2 separate regions of the Homo sapiens genome follow, and region 2 is linked to region 1. Evidence: promoter capture Hi-C in 16 types of primary human blood cells and fetal thymus (Javierre and others, 2016). All regions are on one chromosome and are shown on one strand. The core of a region is centred on a gene start or on the middle of the fragment in contact, and the rest is flanking DNA. Distances in the headings are between cores, read along the strand shown.

The links. Contacts are between HindIII fragments. The CHiCAGO score rates a contact against its expected background, and 5 or more counts as called.
Region 2: a contact is called between a fragment that was not itself captured here and the fragment with the promoter of GYPC in region 1, in 1 of 17 cell types (neutrophils). The highest score is 5.4, in neutrophils.

Annotation. Positions count from the first base shown.
Region 1 is chr2:126,653,636-126,657,732 of GRCh38, forward strand. It overlaps GYPC (glycophorin C (Gerbich blood group)), which reads left to right and starts at 2,523. Exons shown (of 4, transcript NM_002101.5): 1 at 2,523-2,677. The coding sequence starts at 2,629. RefSeq lists enhancers at 2,173-2,462, 3,256-4,095, 3,553-3,802, 3,993-4,097 and a silencer at 2,553-2,922. The HindIII fragment of the contact is 9,683 bases long and covers 1-4,097 here.
Region 2 is chr2:121,524,766-121,529,404 of GRCh38, forward strand. It overlaps CLASP1 (cytoplasmic linker associated protein 1), which reads right to left. Exons shown (of 41, transcript NM_001395891.1): 4 at 3,912-4,015; 5 at 3,034-3,125; 6 at 1,080-1,155. Among named protein-coding and RNA genes, the nearest start is that of CLASP1-AS1, 3.1 kb to the right of the region's middle. The HindIII fragment of the contact is 2,856 bases long and covers 1,813-4,639 here.

The DNA of each region.
Region 1 (4,097 bases), core at 1,273-3,772:
CATAATTATTTTCCCTTCTTAAGAGTCATTTATTTAACATTAGACACTTTCATAGTTAAATTTTCTAAAATATGTCAAATGTTTCCCTGTTAGCTAATTTGCTACACACTAAGACACACTATTTACTTTCTTTTTCAAATGACTTGGGGTCCTTACTATGAACAAAGTATGTGTTAGAGGAGGAAGGGGGCCAATATCTTTAAGTAACTCCAGTGTACTCTCATTGTAATTACCTCTTTAATTATTATCGAATATATTACTCACAACAGCCTAACTTTGCAGATTGCTCCAATTTCCAGGCTGAGAAAAATGAGGCTCAGAGAAAGAAAGTGAAATGCTGAAGGTTACGCAGCTAGTAGGCAGTAGAGTAACTAACCCAGATTGAGTTCCAAAGCCCTGTGGTCTTTAATAGCGCAAGGAACTGTCACATCCTCCAGTGATGGCTGGAGCTGAGATTGCTTTAGTTCTGTAACAAATGCTACTTCGTTCTTGTATCTGACCTCTGCAGTTTGTGGGGCTTTCAATTTTCACTGTTTAGTTCGTTAGTTTATTAATTTTTGGCTTATTTTCTGTAAGGAATTCTCTGCAACATTTTGATGCCTTCAACCTGTCTTACCCTAAGAAATTAAGGAAATCTCTTATGATTACGTCTAAGGCCAGTAGGTTCTAAATGAGTCTGTAAAAGTGACTTCTCTAAGTGTGCTGCAATGACCTAATGACTTGTCCGTTGTTACCTGGCAGAACTTTCTGCTTCTTTCCAACTTTCCAGCTGCATTTCAGATAATTAAAGTTATTTTCTCTCAGGACAGAGGAGCGGGACTACTGTTCCACGTAGACGTATGTGTATGTATTACCAAAAAAAAAAGTTAAACTGTTAAAGTAATCACGGGTGCAGTGGCTCACGCCTGTAATCCCAGCACTTTGGAAGGCCAAGGTGGGTGGATCACCTGAGGTCGGGAGTTCGAGACCAGCCTGACCAACATGGAGAAACCCCGTCTCTACTAAAAATACAAAATTAGCCAGGCGTGGAGGCACATGCTGGTAATCCCAGCTACTCGAGAGGTTGAGGCAGGAGAATTGCTTGAACCCAGGAGGCGGAGGTTGTGGTGAGCCGAGATCACGCCGTTGGACTCCAGCCTGGGCAACAAGAGCAAAAACTCCGTCTCAGAAAAATAAATAAATAAATAAATAAAAATAAATTAATCATTACTCATTGCTGTTTATTAAATGCCTTTTCTGTTCCCACTGTGATTCTACAATCACTGCCTCTGTAAAACCCCGGAATGCAGGTGTTCTTGCCTCCATTTTATAGATGAGGAAATCAAGACTCAGGGCTTCCCCACCAGGCCAAAGGCATTCTGTGAGTAGTTTATTTCAATTCAACATGGCTGTGCTGCACATGGCAGTTGGAGTAAAGATCTATCAGCATCGGGGGTTCTTCATGATCTAACTAAAGTGAATCATGAGTGCTTTCCCACTGCGTCAAGAAGGCCTGGAGTTTGTGCAGCCCGGCTAGAGGTGAGCAAAGCCTCTGTGTTGCAAATCTCCAGGGCGCAGCCTCTCATTGTATTCAATGCAGATGACAGTCCCAAAGGCACCGCCCATACATTGTACAGACAGCTGGCCTGGCTCTCCGGATTGTGCAGGATAGGCCTTAATGGCAGAAGGTAGGGGAGAGGTGGGCGTCACAAAAGTGCTTGGGGAACTATAAAGTAAACAATGAAAAGCAGCACAGGAAGGTTCAGACATCACACAGGAGAAGCACAGGGTGTTCCCCTGGGTGGGGATTTAAAACAAGGGCCTCAAGTTCCCTGCCCTTGTCTCTGGGCAGAAGGGGCAGATAATGCTATGATACATTTTTTGTAGGTGGTGCCATTTGACTGCATTTAACCAACAAAGGTATGTATCGAAATCCACGTGGAGATTTTCATGGCAAAAGTAGAGCGAATTCACAAACTGCACTGTGTCTGGCAGCTTCAGACAAAAGCAATGGGAACAAATCACGACTCTTGTCCAGCAATTCTTCCTGTTTTGGAATGATCTTTGCTCAACAGCCCATCCATGAGTACAGGGCCCCCAAAGGCCAACAAGACAGGGACTCTCTCCAGGGACAAATGCCCCGCAGCTGAGAGAGGCCGCCCAGCTATCCAGCGGCCGCGCAGCCAGCCAAGATTTCAACACAGGTCTGCCCTATTTGGTCACCATCCCCGACAGTGCTGGGCCAGGCCATCATGTCACATTGGGGAGTTTTCCCTGCACTCCAGGGGGAATTCTCAACCACAACCTCTGTATCCGGTAGTGGCAGATGGAAAGAGAAACGGTTAGAAAAGCGTGGTTCTTGCGCAGGAAAGTTGGAGCAAAGAAGAGTTCAGAAGTGGGCGGGTGTGTGTTTAAAAAAAAAAAAGGGGGTGGAAACCCCACCAGCCAAGTCTGCAGAAAAAAAATAAATGAAGTCTGCCTATCTCCGGGCCAGAGCCCCTCCCCTCGGCCCGCGCGGGAGGAGTGTGACCCAGGTGCCGCTTCCTCTCGCCGCCGAGGGTCAGGAGCCCGGGAGCGCGACCCTCCCCCGGCCCGGCCTGGCCCGGCCTGGCCAGTCCCCGCGGTCTCTGCCCGGGCTGACGCCCAGGAATGTGGTCGACGAGAAGCCCCAACAGCACGGCGTGGCCTCTCAGCCTCGGTGAGTACCCGCCGTGGGGAAGGGTCCTGGGGACCCACTGGAGGCCGCGGCCCGCAGCAGCCAGGGGCCGAGCCACGGCCACGGACGCCCTGGTGTCCCGGTCCGTGCCGGGCCTCCAGGCGGAGGAGGCGTCCGCTGGGCTCAGATCCCCGACTCCAGCCCCGGTTCCCCGGCGCCTGGGCTGCGCGGAGTCCCTGTCCCGCGTCCCGGACCCCTACGCGCAGCCTCCACGCGCTCCGAGCTGGAGAAGCCGCCAGCCCGCCCTCCCAGGGCGTGTCGCCCGCTTTCTGTTTCTTTGTGCGGGGCATGTGAAATGTGTGGGGCCAGAATTGTCTCCCTAAAGAACAGTTAGGTGAGAGTTCACATCACAAGTTGCTTCTGTGCTGCTCCCCAGCCAGGGTCCGACCGGCCAGGCTCCGGTGAACTCCAGGCAACTCCAGCCTTGCCCAGGGACTTGCTCGCTCCGCTGGGCGCCGCAAAGGCACACAGATGCGAGGGAATCCTGCGGCCTGGATCCTTTGGGGATTTGTAATTCCTCGCTGCTGGTTTTCTCTTTTAAACCATCACGTTTTCTTGCTGAGAGGAAATCATCTGTGATGAAAGTCTTTGTAGATGCTTGGAAACATTGCTGGGCCTCTCTCTGCCCTCTTCCTCTGCCGTTGGACTTTTGCAATAAAAACTACCATTTGATTTTACCAAAAAACGTAATGTACATCCCTCTTACCCCCACCCTGCCGCGGTCTGATTCTTAGAGTCTGTCAGAGAGGAGATACCCTGAGCCTATCATGTGACAATGATACCTTATTGATATGATAATGATATGGGTATTGGAGACACCAACTCTTTTATAAGTCTTTGAAATCCAGGGGGTTGTGAGGCCTCACCCCTCACCCCGCCTGAGCTTGGAGCTTGGCGTGGAGGAGTGCTGCTTCGGTCTACGTGTGTACACGGCACTCCATGTGCCTGTGGTTGTGCTTGCGTCAGCCTGGGAGTGCGCAGGCATCAGTGGTGCTTGGGAGCGAGGCCCCTCAGTCTGCACTGGGATCATCTGCACTGCCTATAAACAAGGCAGCCTCTCTTAGCTCCAGTTTCCTCATCTGCAAAGTAGGAAAGTAGGAATAATAACAGGAGATAACTCATCCAGCAGCACGAAGTGCGTATAAATGTCCCGGCACGGAGTCTGACACATCCTAAGTGCTGGATCCGTGCTGGGCATGTTTATATAATTGCACATGAGACTGTGGTTCCCGGAGCACGTAACTTGAGCATATGTTTATGTGTGTGTATACGGCAGGTCCTGGGTTAAAGGGACAGGAGCCACTGTCATTATTCCAATTCAGTCACTGAGGAGGTGAGGCTGAGAGGCATTCTCATGTCTGAAGAGGATGGGCTTGCCTGACCCCCGCCCCCGTGCCCAGCC
Region 2 (4,639 bases), core at 1,991-4,490, 5.1 Mb before region 1:
ATATATTTTCAACAAAGGCTGAAAAAGGGCGTGAGTGGAAGAAGAAAGCAGGGAGACAGCAGACGACAGGCAGTGAGGAGGGGAGAGGCTGGGGTGGAAGGAGCAGCACAACAGCCAAAGAGAAGGGAGAGACGCCTGCTGCTGGAACTAAGAGCACGATAAGGAAAGGGCCTGGAGAGCAAGAGGGGAGGGGTGCCGACTCAGGGGAGCTAGAGGCCAGGGGAGGTCGGGTAGAAGGCCAGCCTGATACAACCTCCTGGGAGGGTAACTTAGCAGTTATCAACCAAGATTTCACAGGAGAGGCCACTGACCATATATATTTCTCTTGTAAATTACTGTTCCATTTTCTGTCCCTTCTTCTAATGAAGTATCATTCTTATCAGTTTGTATGAGATGACATAATAAAAATGACTCTGGTTGAGAAATAGCATTGAACTGGGAGGAGAGTTCAATGCTATTTCTCCAGCCCAGACTTGTACAACTTTGTGAATTGCCTGGTAACTCACAGGTGAGACAGCCAGCTCCTCTCCTACCCTCACACTGAGGAAGTGGTACTTTTTGTTAATTTAGGTAAAGTCTGCAGTTCTTAAGGGTTCAGTTGAGGAGTTTCCACGATGATATACACAGTGGAGCCACCCCCCAAAGCAAAATGTAGAACATTCCCATCACCTCAGAAAATTCCCCTCAGACCCTCTTTCAATCATTCTCCCCAACCTCAGCAGATTCTGCACCTCCACCCCCGGCACCACCCCTTTTGGCTGCAGAGGTGGTGGCCAGACATCTTATCTTGGAGGCTGGTCTGGATAACATCAATTTCTAGGCTAGTGATTTCTCAGCCCTGTGTATAGAAGAGGACAGACTGGCCACCACATTTACCAATTTTATACTTAAATGTAAACTTATTTTATACATTTGAATGTATAAATATTTTATAAATGCTAATGGGTACTGGATCTCTTAAATAATCATCAGTGTTCTGTGAAGATTAGGACTCCAGTCCCACCCACTACGGAACACCAGAATGCATCTCAACAGTCTGTAAGCAATGACTTCTCCCGAGGGTTTTCCTTCTCACTCACCTGGCTGTTTGGATCTCCAAGTAAGTTGCATATATGTGGCACAATCTTGCTTAGTGTTAAAGTCTGTGCTCCAGAGCTGAAAACAAAAGGAGTGCTTTCTTGTTAGTGAGAACTGAGGAAAGAAAGAAAGATGCCTGTCTGCCCACACCTGCCCTTCCCGTGTCTCCCCAATCCCCATCACCACCTCATACCAAGTCTCTCTCCATCCCATCCACACTGGCTCCAAAGTAAATGTGTCCGATGGCCCCTTTGCACAGAGTTCAAAACCTAGGGTGGCTTCTCCCAGATAAGTCTTCGTCCTGTCCCCCAGGGCTCTGGCCAATCTGGCCCTAACCCTTTAAGGCTGGGCCAGAGCTCCAGCCCCCCAGGTCCCGCTTGCCTCACAGGTGCTGCCTCTGCATTACTGTCTGTCACTTTAAGCCAACTACGAGTCACTTGAGGGACCTTGTTTAATTCTCCCGTGTGCTGTGGCAGAGCTAGACATTCAGGCAACACCGCTGGATGAAAAGACTGCAATCAAATCAGAGCATCTACCCTACTGGGGCACATCTGAGCCAAGTACTGCCCTACTGGGGCACATTTGAGTTACAATTTTCACCATCACCATCCCTGTCATGACAAATAGCCTTTGTGAATAAAAATCTCTTGGTTAATCTGCCTACTACCTTAGCATACATTCCTAAAACTGGAGCTACTGTGATCAAAGGCTAGAAGTTTTCTTTTTTTTTTCTTAAGCTTCAGTTACATATGGCCAAATTTAATGGCACTGAAAAGGCTAACATATTAAGATGGAAAAAATTTACAAGTAATATAAACATTATAATCTCAATTTTGTTTTTAAAAATAACATAACTTTACAGGTTAGGATAAAATGCACCAAATTTAACAGTGATTACCTGAAGGTAACAGAATCATAGCAATCTTTATTTTTTCCTTGCGTACATTTTTATGATATATACAGTATTTTTTCATAATCAGAAAAAAAGGCTTGAAATTTATAATTTTTAAAAAGCCTCTCCTACAAATAAGCACATGAAAAAAATGTTCACCATCAACAGCCATTAGATAAATACAAATTAAAACCACAATGAGGTATTACTACACACATATAAAAATGGCTAAAATAAAAAAATGACAACATCCAATGGCTAGCAAGGGTATGAAGAAACCAGATTATTCGGACATTGCTGGTAGGAATGTAAAACAGTATGGACAACTCTGGGGAAAAACTTGGCAGTACCTTTTAAACTAAAAATGAACTTACCAAATCACCCAGCAAGTGTACTCTTGGGCAGTGATCCAAGAGAGATGGAAACTTATGTTCATGTAGAAACTTGTACATGAATGTTCATAGCAGCTTTATTCATAAAAGCCAAAAACTGGAAATTACCCAAATGTTCTTCAACAGGTGACTAGTTTAACCAACTGTGACACATCTATACCAAGGAATTCTATTTAGCAATAAAATGAACTATCAAATGTCAGGTGCAAACTCAAGGGCATTATGCTGAGTGAAAAAAAGATAAACTCAAAAGGTTACATATTGTATAATTCCATTTACATAACATTCTTGAAATGACAAAATCATAGGGAGGGAGAACAGATTCCTGGAAATTCAAATACATTCATGGTTGCCAGGGGTCAGGGTGCAGCTACACACAGCAGCATGAAGGAGCCCGGCAGTGACTGTGCAGTTGTATATACACACAAATGCACATGTGGTTTTACCTGAGAAATTTGCGCAAGTTCTAGGGATTGTATCCATCTCAACTTCCTGGTACTGATGCTGTACTATAGTTATTCAAGGTGCTAACACTGGGCAAGGGTGGGTAAAGGGGGCATGAGATCTCACACTACACTTCTTTGCAACTTCCTGTAAATCTATAATTATTTCAAAATAAAAAGTTTTAAAAAATTCAGCCACGTAAAAATGTCAGGCTCATCCCAGACTTACGCATTGAGTGTTGCTATAAGGCAGAGACAGATGCCTTCTCGAGTACGGAAATTCTTGTGTTTGAAGCCTCCAAGCATTCTGTCCCATACGTACTGCAGATGACAAAGAACAGGTGAGGAAAGGAGAAGACTGCTGCAGCTGACACTTTATAAGGGAGCAATAGAAGGCAAGCCTCTTAACGAGCGCCAAATTAGTCCCATCCTCTACCAACACATTTAATCCTCTCGAGAGCATACTGGAAAATGATGACATCTATCATGTTATCAAGTATATCAAATTACAATTTTTAAAACACATTCATTTACATAATTGCATTTAATTCTCCCAAGAACCCTGAAAGAGAGGTATAACTGTCCTCATTTTATGGGTGAGGAAAGCAAGGCCAAAGGAGCTAGTGAGTTGCCAAAGATCACACACTCACACTGGCCTCTGTTTTTTCTGATCACCCCCCAATAAAGGACAGTAGAAGCTGGGAAAGCAGGGCTGTTTTGGTCCATCCCAGCAGCCCCAATTCACCGGAAGACAGGGGCCAGGGCTCCAGCCAGGCCTCCTGACTCCCCAGACACCACAGCTCCCTCTTTTCAGAGAATTGGAGAGTCGGTTACATAAATGAGCTGAAGAGTCTAATGGATTAAAACTAAGTATATTAGATTCAATACCCCCATGTTAAATCCACTAATTTACTCATCTCATAGTTTTGTGACTTATTTAAATATCTTGCATGGGGAAACAGATTGAATGCTGTGAAAATTTTTATCTGTAATACATCAGCTTAAGTCTATGGAGTCACACCATTTGTGCAAGTACACACACACACCCTCGCACGTGCATGCACGCGCACTGGCCAGCTGACCTCAAAACACATCTCTTGCCCCTACCTGGGGATTAGCAGCTTGATCCATGATCTTTAGCAGCAGAGTTTGGTCCTGCTCCCTCACAGAGTCTTTAGCATCTCCTAGTCTGTCTATTAGACTTGGCAGCACTGAAAATCAAAATGGAAACTGATCAAATGAAACCCTATTTGGGGGTCTGTGGTCACCAAGTATTCCTATCTCAATTATGTGGGAAGACAAACCCCTGACCTAAATGATGTATCTCATTCTAAAACCACTCATCTTTGCTCACAGCTCTACTCTCCTTGCTGAAGTCCATGAAAGTCACCAAAAGAGTCTGCAAAATCCTTTGCATGGACAGATACACTATTTGTCTTCCTCCTTACCCCACGTTCCTCCAGCCAGTTCCCAACGTATTTGTAAGCTGATAAAAATGGAAGACCTTGAGAGGAAGAGTCAACAGAAAGGAAAATTTAGGTAAAACACAAGGAGAGGGGCTCCAGTATATGTGTTTGGGGGTGGAAGGAGTGGGCACTTATGAATAAATCTTAAGTTTCATCACTATTGTGTATTTTTAGTTTTACATCACGCCCATACACACATGAGACAGAGCCCAGCTCTCCATCTTCCCCGACATACCCAGGGTGGACCCTCCCACCAGTGGTCCAAGTGCACCTGTAGACCAGAGATCAGCTTATTTTAAGAGTTTGTAAACCTCTATTACATGAGATATCCCTGAATAATTCAGCTAATTTAGGAGGAAAATGGAACAC